4 separate regions of the Homo sapiens genome follow, and regions 1, 2 and 4 are each linked to region 3. The links are contacts of gene promoters, found by promoter capture Hi-C in human tissues and cell types (Jung and others, 2019). All regions are on one chromosome and are shown on one strand. The core of a region is centred on a gene start or on the middle of the fragment in contact, and the rest is flanking DNA. Distances in the headings are between cores, read along the strand shown. Region 1 overlaps UHRF2 (ubiquitin like with PHD and ring finger domains 2). Region 2 overlaps GLDC (glycine decarboxylase). Region 3 holds the start of ERMP1 (endoplasmic reticulum metallopeptidase 1). Region 4 has its middle 20 kb from the start of INSL4.

Region 1 (2,700 bases), core at 83-2,582, 600 kb before region 3:
GCTGAGACAGGAGAATCGTTTGAACCCGGGAGACAGAAGTTGCAGTGAGTCAAGATCACACCACGGCACTCCAGCCCAAGCCATAGAGCAGGGCTGTCTCAAAGAAACAAACAAAAAACAATTCAGCCTATGTTCACCAAGAAATCTATAGAAAAGGACCATTTACAAGCAACTAGTAAAACTCAAATTTTAAAACATTTCAAATCTCTTAACATAACCTGTTTTTCATAAACTTAGTGTTTGTATCTGTAATTTTTGAAGGAATAGTGGAGATAAATTAGGAAACAAATTATTTCAGTTATATTTTAGAATTACATCTTCTACTATATCTTAAATTTTTTTGGTTTGGTGTTTGAAACTCCTCTACCTAAGAAGAAACATCATAAATCTATAATGGCTATCATTCCTCATAGACTAAAGATTGTTTTTAACTCTGCTCTGACTGGAGTAGAAGTTGAAAATGCAAGAGAATAGCTATTTATCTTGGCCTAATTCAGCAACGAATTCTGTTTTAATGAAGCTTCATTTCAAAGACTGATAATCTGGTCTAGTAATCTATTAGATACGTAGATTACTATAAAAAACAGCTTTTAAACAGCTCCATTTTAACTGACAAACATTGCATACCCCAGAATAATTCCAGAGGCAGGTTTCTTTCATCTCATGTACAATACATCTCCCTGCTTTTGCTAAATGACAGCTTGTTCAAACTACACTGCTACACTCAAGAGGTTTGCAGACACAATTGTGCACAGGTTTGCCAAATAATGCTTATCACTCTAGGAGAAAAATGAAAAAGTAGTTCTTTGAGAGAAATACCATAAAGCCATAAATGCAATGGGATGGTAACCTATAAGCACTTAAAGCCTATTTAGTTAAAGTACAAAAATGTGACTTTGAGAGACACTGGCTTAGAGGTAAAAATGACATGCTGTCATTACAGGTCATCTAATACAATTACTAACTTCATAGATTCTCTTTGCAGTGCATCATCTCCAATAAGTCTTCCCATCTATGGTTGAAAATGGCCAATGCTAGTTTACTGGCTACTTCTCAAGGCAGACCATTCTCCATCTTCAGAGATATTTGACTGGTAGGAAGTTTAGGTTATCCTGAAACTTCCCTTCTGTGTTATACAGAAATCTCTTCTAAGAGCTTTTACAATATGGGAACAATCATAATCCAGGTCTTTCAAGCTAAGTATTTAGTTTTTTTGGCTACTCTTCACTGTAGTTTTACATTTTGAGTCCTACTCTGAACATGCACCAGGTCCTGATGGTATTGTTTTTAAGGCATGAGAGCTGGAGGACAATATTCCTAGTAGGGAATAGCCAGTCCAGTACAACAGCAGCATCATCTGGTTTGTACTAGGTATCTTACTTCTAATGAAACTAGCCGGGTGCGGTGGCTCACACCTGTAATCTCGCACTCTGGGAGGCTAAGGTGGGTGTTTGAGATCAGGAATTCAAGACCACCTTGGCCAACGTGGTGAAACCCAGTCTCAACTAAAAATACAAACATTAGCCAGGTGTGGTGGTGCATGCCTATAATCCTAGCTTCTTGGGAGGCTGAGGCACGAGAATTACTTGAAACCAGGAAGTGGAGGTTGCAGTGACCTGAGATCGCACCACTGCACTCCAGCCTGGGCCACAGTGCAAGACTCTGTCTCAAAAATAAATAAATAAAATAAAGCAAAACAGATTTACAGCATAACTATATGACAACCACATTCTATCGACTCACTTGGAGCTTACTACTCAATAAAAAAATCTGGCCAGGTGCAGTGACTCATACCTGTAATCCCAGCACTTTGGGAGGTTGAGGTAGGTGGATCACCTGAGGTCCAGAGTTCAAGACCAGCCTGACCAACACGGTGAAACCCCGTATCTACTAAAGATACAAAAGTTAGCCAGGCGTGGTGGCAGGCACCTGTCATCCCAGGTACTCATGAGGCTGAGGCAGGAGAATCGCTTGAACCTGCAAGGCAGAGGTTGCAGCGAGCCGAGATCGTGCCACTGCACTCCAGACTGAGCAACAGAACGAGACTCTGTCTAAAAAATAATAATAATAAAATAAAAAATCTGCTTATTACTACTGTTAGGCTATACCAGCTTTCTTCAATGCATCCTCCATTCAAAGAAGAACTTGTTTGATGACTTACTGAAATCAACATGTACTTCATTATATTTTATAATTCATTTTTCTAATGATCACAAAGAATGAAACTTTAACATGCTTTGTATCACAACCATATCGGGCTCATAATGATTCTTTTATCCAGGAGCTTATTTATGTTATACATCTCATATTTTATATAGTCCTTTCCTCTTTTTAAAGAGGTGACATTTACCTGTTACTAAGCTTCTGTTATCTTTCATTTTTCAAAGAAAGTTCAGCTATCGTATCTTTAAGTTGCCAGCATTGAAACATTTAATTCCATCACGTAAAATTATTTAGGGCAGGTAATTTTAGTCTTTTCACACATGTTGGATTTAGATTCCCCTTTACTTAACATTCATTCTAACTGACAAAAAAAGTTGCCAAATATATGCTAAGGTACTGTGTTTTGTGCTCTAAGATACACCAAACTGAAGGGTAGGTCCTATCCATTGGATAGTCTTACTTCAAAAGCAACTTTAAGAGCCCCTAAAACTGTAAAATTTAATAAGCCTTAGTTCACTATTTAAAGTTCCTTATTCT
Region 2 (2,700 bases), core at 1-2,500, 760 kb before region 3:
GACCCTGCCTCCAAAAATATTAAATAAATAAATAAATAAATAAATAAGTAAAATTATATATTTGATCCATTTTGAGTGCTTTGTGGCCCAGCCACCCAGAAGCCTGGATGTCCACATGTGGCTCCAGGCACAGTTCTGGCCCTATCATCTCTGTGTTTCTCCTTCAGGAACTGGTTGCTGAAAGCATGGGAGAGGAGTGCAGAGGTATTCCAGGGTCTGTGTTCAAGAGGACCAGCCCGTTCCTCACCCATCAAGTGTTCAACAGGTTTGTGTGTCTTGTGTGACTTCTGCGTTTTGTGCTTTGGTAATCAGCTAGGGAGTTAGGCAGAGTGCTGCTGCTGATTTCGCCTGCTGTGGCCTGGTTATTCTGGCTCAGCCGTGGCTCCCAAGTATTTCATCCTCATAACGATCCCGTTCCTGACTTGGGAAAAGCACACTTTGTTTCCTGGTGGCTCTGCTCCCTTGGCAGTCAGGAAGCAGGGATGAATAATTGCCAGGCTGAAGTTCACTCCCAAGAGCCCTATATCCTCTTCTTCCCAACCTTCAACTCATACCCACAGTCAGCTTCTTGTCCAAGACATCCTCTGAGGTTTGTGGGGGTCTGTGCCCTTCTCTCTGAGTGTAGTTGACATATTGTCCGTGGCCAAAATTGATCTGCATTTTGAAAGTAGATTTCGGTGTGTCTTATATGTCAGGAGGATGTGCATGGACTCATATCTACTTTTGGGGCCCCTAATTCTGTGTTTTGTGTTCACAGCTACCACTCTGAAACAAACATTGTCCGGTACATGAAGAAACTGGAAAATAAAGACATTTCCCTTGTTCACAGCATGATTCCACTGGTAGTTATTTGTGGCCTTTTTTCTCATTTCCAAGCTACCCCAATCCCACGTCTCTTGGTCCTACCTAATATGCTCCAAGAGCAACAAAGGGGTGGCCATGCTGGGAGAATGGAGGGTTGATTGATGGACTATAGAAAATCACTAATGTGATACATTTTGGATGTTCTTCTTAAAGGGATCCTGCACCATGAAACTGAACAGTTCGTCTGAACTCGCAGTAAGTAGCTCACTTCTGTAAGTGGATACTCAGCAAGGGGCAGTGTTCTAGCTTCCACCTAAGCCCAGAACTAGTGAAATCTACTGGGACTGTGATTCTGTGATTGAAGAACTATTTTAATAATTCTTTACCTTGCTATTCACCAATCTTGGGAGTAACCCTGTATTTCTCACGACTTCATCATTTAAATGTATGGGTAAACTTATTATTTTTTAATAAAATTAATTAAATGTATATGGTATTTATGCCTTTCTATCCTATCCCTCCCCCACCCCCACCCCCTTTTAAACCTGTCATATTAAAAGCTTTTTTAAAAAAAATTGTTTATAGTTCTAAATCTCAGGTAGAATTACGAACCTTAAGCCGTCTTTCTAGAAATCATTCCTGTATCAGAAAGATAGGGATTCAAGTCAACAGAAGATTTGTGCAACTCGCTGTTGTGGTTGGCAAGTATCTCTACTAGGCCAGGATCCATTTTAGCGAAGCTTTTTTTTTCTTTCTTTCATTTCTTACGTTTATTCTGAAGTGACATATCATATCAGACGAAAGAAATCATTTTATATCATGATAAGAATATTTCCCTCTCTATTTTTTTAAAAAATAGAGTCAAGGTCTTGCTGTGTTTGCCAGTCTGATCTCAGACTCCTGGCCTCAAGCAGTCCTCCCACCTCAGCCTCCCAGAGTTCTGGAATTATAGGTGTGAACCACTGTACCTGGCCTTCCCATTTACTTTTGTGTTTGTTTCTTGTTCCACTTAGTGAAGAAAGAGAACAATCTATTGCTATATAAGAGTTTATGCCAACCATACCTGAAGCAACTCATTGTGTTTCATGGAAAGAAATCTGTTTTGGGGGCTTTTCTTCCCTGAAAAGTTAGCAAAACATTGTATTTTTGTGTAAGTTCCCTTTTTGGACAACTATGTCCCACTTTTAAATGAAGACAGTAACGGTACTTACCTTATAAGGTTGTGGTGGAACTTAAATAAATTAACATATGTATAGCGCTTAGAACAGTGCCTGGCACATAGCTTTTCTCATCATCGTCATTATTATTAAAGTTATTATTGCTATTGCTATTATAATATGTATATATGCATTTTTGTTTTCTTTCTTTTCAGCCTATCACATGGAAAGAATTTGCAAACATCCACCCCTTTGTGCCTCTGGATCAAGCTCAAGGATATCAGCAGCTTTTCCGAGAGCTTGAGAAGGATTTGTGTGAACTCACAGGTTATGACCAGGTCTGTTTCCAGCCAAACAGGTAAGGGCATTTCTTTTCTTATTGTTTCAGCAATCTATTCTTGTATAGCATACACCACAAAACTTAAAGGCTTAGAACAACAACTTTTTTGTGTTATTCTGTGACTTGCTAGACAGTTCCACTCCACTGGGGAGAGCATGGCTAGAAGGTGCATCGTGTTCTCCCTCACATAGCTGGTGAGGAGCTGTGGGCTGGGAGTGCATTTGAGGATGTTCACTAGGGCCATAGTTTTTCTCCATATGGGGCTTTCCTTGTAGTTCCTTGAGCTTCCTTGTTCCTTACAGCACAATGTCGGGGTTCAGAATGCGTGTTCCCAGATGAAGCATGGAGAAGCTGCAAATCTCTAATGGCCGAACCTCCTAAGTTACACTGCATCCCTTC
Region 3 (2,700 bases), core at 134-2,633:
TTGACTACATACTATGTGTCATGCTTTGTGTTAAGAGCAAGGAATAAAATGGTGAGTAAAACCAGACCTGATTCCTGCCTTCGTGGGGCTTACAGTCTAATGAGGAAGTTATGAAATAGTCACATGCAAACATGGTGCTGTGAGATCCTACAAATAGGGGAAGCAAGCTTAATTAAATTAGGAGATTCTTGCTTGAGGAAGTACCACTTAATCTGAGATTTAAAGGATAACTAGGAGTTAAAAAGACAATGAGGAGAGAGAAGAACACTCCAGGTAATTCAAACAGCATGTGAGAAGATCCTATTGTAGAAGGAAAGATGCGTGCAGGAAGTCTTTGAAAGAGGCCAGTGTGGCTGGAGAGCTGGAAATAAGAAGCATCCTGGTGTCAGAGGAGCCTGAGAGGTGGGCAAGAGCAGGACTATAGGGCATTGTATGAAATCTGACATATGTGCTAAGTCAAAATCCGGCAGTGTGCTCTCCCAGTTGGTCTCTAGGTTAATGCTCATGCTAATGTAGCAACTCCAAGCTAGGGACAAAAAACCTTGGAGCAGAGAGGCTCATGGGTACCGGCAAGCTGGAAGAAGACTAGATAATCACTAGGATCTGCACTGAAACCAAGGCTCTGCTGCTTAACCGCCCCAGAGAGTCGTCAAGTGAAGAATGGCCTTTCTGAACCTTCACTTGCAGAGTGCTAATGTAGTAGTGGAACAGAATGCTGTTTTGGGAGCCCATGAAATTAGATTTACATTCTTCATCTGTTATCTCTACGTTTCTCAGGTTATAAAATGGGAACAAAGATATTTCCTTTTAAGTATTGTTAAAGATAATTAAATAAGATGATGTATTAAAGGACTTGACCTAGCGCTTAGCTCATAGCAGGTATTCAATAAATAATAGCCATTATTTTTCTTTATCTGTTAAATGGAGACAGTAATAGCACAGATTAAGTTGCTGAGTTATGAAGATCTGATTAGATTATGCATGTGAAAGCAATAGGCCGGGCCTCCTCTGCGTAATCTTATTTCTAATTTTAAGAGCCAGGAACCCACTTTTTTGGAGCCTGATGTTCTAATATTCCTTCCTTACGAAAGCCAGGTCATTGCTTTTTTCATCTGCCTGATGCACTGTAAGAGCCTTGTGTGTTCTTTCAAAAGCGATCTCTCATTTTTCTCGTTTTGGGTTTTTAGGTGTCTTTACATTTGGCAATCTCCGTCCTACAGAGGGCTGGAAAAGCCCTGCGGGAGACGGCATATCCACCACCCGCTGCTGGGTCGGCCCTGCAGCTGTGTGCACCCGAGAACTGCCAAAGAAGCTGGGTCTTGGCGCGGCGGGACGGGCCAATCAGAAGAAGTTTGGCCCTCTGCAGTTTCCGTCCGCTCACTAGGAGGCGCTGCGGCAGCGACGGCGGCGTCGGCGGCGGCCGGGGCTGTCGCGGGTTGGGGCGGTTGGGCTGGCAGCTGAGGCTCGTGGCCATGGAGTGGGGTTCTGAGTCGGCTGCTGTGAGGCGGCACCGCGTCGGAGTAGAGCGTCGAGAGGGAGCGGCGGCCGCGCCACCGCCGGAGAGGGAGGCCCGAGCGCAGGAGCCTCTGGTGGATGGGTGCAGCGGCGGCGGGAGGACGCGGAAGAGGAGCCCCGGGGGTAGCGGCGGCGCGAGCAGGGGCGCGGGGACCGGGCTGTCTGAGGTGCGCGCCGCGCTGGGGCTCGCGCTCTACCTGATCGCGCTGCGGACGCTGGTGCAGCTCTCGCTGCAGCAGCTCGTGCTACGCGGGGCCGCTGGACACCGCGGGGAGTTCGACGCGCTCCAAGCCAGGTACCGGCCGCTCCCTCCTGGCACGGCCCGCGCGTCCGTTTGCGGCTCCTGCGCAGGCTCCGGGGCACCGCACCTGTGTGCACCCGCCCCTGCCGGACCGCTGGGACTCGCTGACCCCTCCCAGGCTGCACGTGGGGTGGGGTGACCTTGCTTGTCCTTCTTCTGGGGTCTGAATTGCCGGGACTTGGGGCTTGCCTGTCCCCGGTTAAGCTCGTGGTGCAGATTGGGGTTGCCAGGTAGATTGAACCTGCTTTCCACTGTCTGCCCTTCGTGCAGATGGTTGGTTGTGAGTCGTCTCCCCATATTCTGGAACAGCTTCCCCTTTTTACCTTGCTTAGCCCTTCTGCTTTCCAGATGGAAATTTGTGTACCTAGACTGTTGTATAAATTCGCTTTGGGGGCGGGGAGTTTTGGAAGGCGCTAGTGCACTGTTCTAACTTTCTGAGGGTTACAGCCCCCACATCTGAAGGCTATAGAAACTCTTTCTGGAACACCGCCCAGTCAAAATTTGGTATGCAGTCTGATAAATTCTCAGATCCCTGCAGTTTATCTTTAGGCCCCTTGGATTAGTGACTGTGTAAGGTTTGACTTTTTTTTTTTTTTTTAAGACCTTTAAGAATGCTAGGAAAGGTGATTAAGTCAAAGATATTGTAACCCAGGTGTGTCAAAGCTCATGAAGTGTTAAGCTGGCGTCAAGTTTTCAACAGCTACTGTGTTCTAAAAAGTTTTTGCTAGAATGCAAAGTGTTGCAAGCTTATTAAGGACTTTCTGAAACGTCTCCCACCCCCACTTCCAGCTTTCCCCACTTGGAATGCAGTGAAAAGACAAAAACAGTTTTGTTTTCATTAGGGGTACAGTTGGTTTTGGCCTGAATTGAAGTTATTAGACCTT
Region 4 (2,754 bases), core at 16-2,515, 580 kb after region 3:
GACTTAGGCCTATGCCAAAAACTTTTCTTTAGATATGTGTTTGCTACATCCCATAAGTTTTGGTATGTTGTGTTTCTATTTTTAATTGTCACAAGTTAACTTTCTGTTTCTCTTTTGATTTCTTGCATGACCTAATGGTTGTTTGGGAAGATGTTGTTTAATTTCCACATATTTGTGAATTTTTCAGTTTTCCTCATATTATTGAGTTCTGGTTACTTGAAATGTAAAGACTAGGTTGTTTATTTGTGATCCATATTCTTCTTATGGTGTTTATTGCTATAAAATTCCCTCTTAAGATTGCTTTAGCTGCATTCCATAATTTTGTTAGGTTGTATGTCCATAATCATTTGTTTCAGGATATTTTAAAATTTTTCTTTTAATTTCTCCTGTGGTCCATTTTTCTTCAGGAGCATGTTGTTTAATTTCTACATATTTGTGAATATTCTGAAATTCATCCTATGATTTCTAATTTCATACCAATGTGGTTGGAAAAAAATAATTAGTATGAATTTTGATCTTATTGAATTAGATAACACTTGGGTTTTTTACCTCACATACAATCTGTCTTGGAGAATTCTGTGTGTGTTGAAAAAAATGTGTATTCTTCTGTTGTTGGATGGGAAGATCTGTATATATCTGTAGGTCCATTTGGTCTATATTATTCAAGTGTACTGTTTCCTTATGGATTTTGTGTCTGGGTAATCTATCCATTGTTTAAAATGGACTATTAAAGTCACTTATTGTTATTGTATTGCTGTCTATTTCTCTCTTAAGGTCTGTTAGTATTTATTTTATATATTTAGTTGCTCTGATGTTGAGTGCATTTATTTTTACAATTGTTATGTCCTCTTGATGAAATGACCCTTTAATCATTATATAATGACTTTTTAATTTTTAAATTTTTTATTTCAATAGGGTTTTGGGGAACAGGTGGTGTTTGGTTACATGAATAAGTTCTTTAGTGGTGATTTCTGAAATTTTGGTGCACCCATCACCCGAGCAGCATACACTGTACCCAACGTGTAGTCTTATATCTTGCCACCCCCACTTTTTTCCCTGTCTCCAAAGCCCAATATGTCATTCTTATGCCTTTGCGTCCTCATAGCTTAGCTCCCACATATAAGTGAGAACTATGGCTTGGTTTTCCATTCCTGAGTTACTTCACTTAGAATAATAGTCTCCATTTCTATTCAGGTTGCTGTGAATGCCATTATTTTATTCTTTTTATGGCTGAATAGTATTCTATAGTGCGTGTGTGTGTGTGTGTGTGTGTGTGTGTGTGTGTGTATCACATTTTCTTTGGGGCATTAGGGCTGGTTCCATATTTTTACCTATGCACTATACCTATGCACTATAAACATGTGCGTGCAAGTATTTTTTCATGTAATGACTTCTTTTCCTCTGGGTAGATATTTAGTAGAGGGATTGCTGGATCAAGGGGTAGATCTACTTTAAGTTCTTTAAGGAATCTCCACGCTGTTTTCCATAGTCGCTGTACTAGTTTACATTCCCTCCAACAGTGTAAAAGTATTACCTTTTCACTGCGTCCATGCCAACTCTATTATTTTTTGATGTTTTTTATTATGGCCATTCTTGCAGAAGTGAGATGGTTTGCATTGTGGTCTCGATATGCATTTCCCTGATAGTGATGTTGAGCATTTTTCCATATGCTTGTTGGCCATTTGGATATCTTCTTTTGAGAACTGTCTATTCATACCCTTAGCCCACTTTTGATGGGATTGTTTTTTGTTTTTTGTTTTTTCTTGTTGATTTGTTTGAGTTCCTTGTAGATTCTGGATATTAGTCCTTTGTATAGATTGTGAAGATTTTCTCCCACTCTGTGAGTTGTCTGTTAATTGTACTGAATATTTCTTTTGCTGTGCAGAAGCTTTTTAGTTTAATTAAGTCCTATTTATTTATTATTGTCTTTGTTGCATTAGCTTTCAGGTTCTTGGTTACGAAATCTTTGCCTAAGCCAATGAATAGAAGAGTTTTTCCAATGTTATCTTCTAGAATCTTTATGGTTTCAGGTCATAGATTTCAGTCTTTGATCCATCTTGAGTTGATTTTTGTATAAGGTGAGAGATGAGAATCCAGTTTCATTCATCTACATGTGGCTTGTCAATTATCCCAGCACCATTGATTGAATAAGGTGTCTTTTCCCCTCTTTATGTTTTTGTTTGCTTTGTTGAAGATCAGTTGCCTGTAAGTATTTGGCTTTATTTCTGGGTTCTCTATCCAGTTCCATTGGTCTATGTGCCTATTTTTATACCAGTACCATCCTGTTTTTGTGACTATGGCCTTATAGTATACTTTAAAGTCAGGTAATGTGATGCCTCCAGATTTGTTCTTTTTGCTTAGTTTTGCTTTGGCTATGCAGGCTCTTTTTTGGTTCTATATGAATTTTAGATTTGTATTTTCTAGTTCTGTGAAGAATGATGGTGGTATTTTGATTGGGATTGCATTAAATTTGTAGATTGCTTTTGGCAGTATGGTCATTTTCACAATACTGATTCTACCCACCCATGAGCATGGGATGTGTTTCCATTTGTTGTGTCATCTATGATTTCTTTCAGCAGTGTGTTGTAGTTTTCCTTGTAGAGGTCTTTTGCTTTAAAGATGTTCATTTTGGTGTATTTCAAGGATTTGTTTCAAGATTTAGATCTCCTTTTAGCAATTCTTGTAGTGCTGGCTTGATAGTGGTCAATTATGTCAGCATATGCTTGTCTGGAAAAGACTGTATCTTTCCTTCAT

Evidence for each region. Contacts are between HindIII fragments. The study calls those that stand out against the background at their distance.
Region 1: a fragment that was not itself captured here is called in contact with the fragment with the promoter of ERMP1 in region 3 in 1 of the 25 tissues and cell types used here (hippocampus).
Region 2: a contact is called between a fragment that was not itself captured here and the fragment with the promoter of ERMP1 in region 3, in 1 of the 25 tissues and cell types used here (lymphoblastoid cells).
Region 4: a contact is called between a fragment that was not itself captured here and the fragment with the promoter of ERMP1 in region 3, in 1 of the 25 tissues and cell types used here (heart left ventricle).

What each region holds. Positions count from the first base shown.
Region 1 is chr9:6,436,605-6,439,304 of GRCh38, reverse strand. All of the region lies in intron 3 of UHRF2 (ubiquitin like with PHD and ring finger domains 2), which reads right to left. Among named protein-coding and RNA genes, the nearest start is that of UHRF2, 25 kb to the right of the region's middle. The HindIII fragment of the contact is 5,119 bases long and covers 1-2,700 here.
Region 2 is chr9:6,586,760-6,589,459 of GRCh38, reverse strand. GLDC (glycine decarboxylase) reads left to right here. Exons shown (of 25, transcript NM_000170.3): 12 at 168-265; 13 at 758-842; 14 at 1,018-1,059; 15 at 2,177-2,319. Among named protein-coding and RNA genes, the nearest start is that of GLDC, 58 kb to the left of the region's middle. The HindIII fragment of the contact is 3,053 bases long and covers 1-2,700 here.
Region 3 is chr9:5,831,800-5,834,499 of GRCh38, reverse strand. ERMP1 (endoplasmic reticulum metallopeptidase 1) reads left to right here and starts at 1,383. Exons shown (of 15, transcript NM_024896.3): 1 at 1,383-1,810. The coding sequence starts at 1,473. RefSeq lists silencers at 1,297-1,516, 1,597-1,816. The HindIII fragment of the contact is 3,970 bases long and covers 1-2,700 here.
Region 4 is chr9:5,249,561-5,252,314 of GRCh38, reverse strand. No RefSeq gene overlaps it. Among named protein-coding and RNA genes, the nearest start is that of INSL4, 20 kb to the right of the region's middle. The HindIII fragment of the contact is 6,926 bases long and covers 1-2,754 here.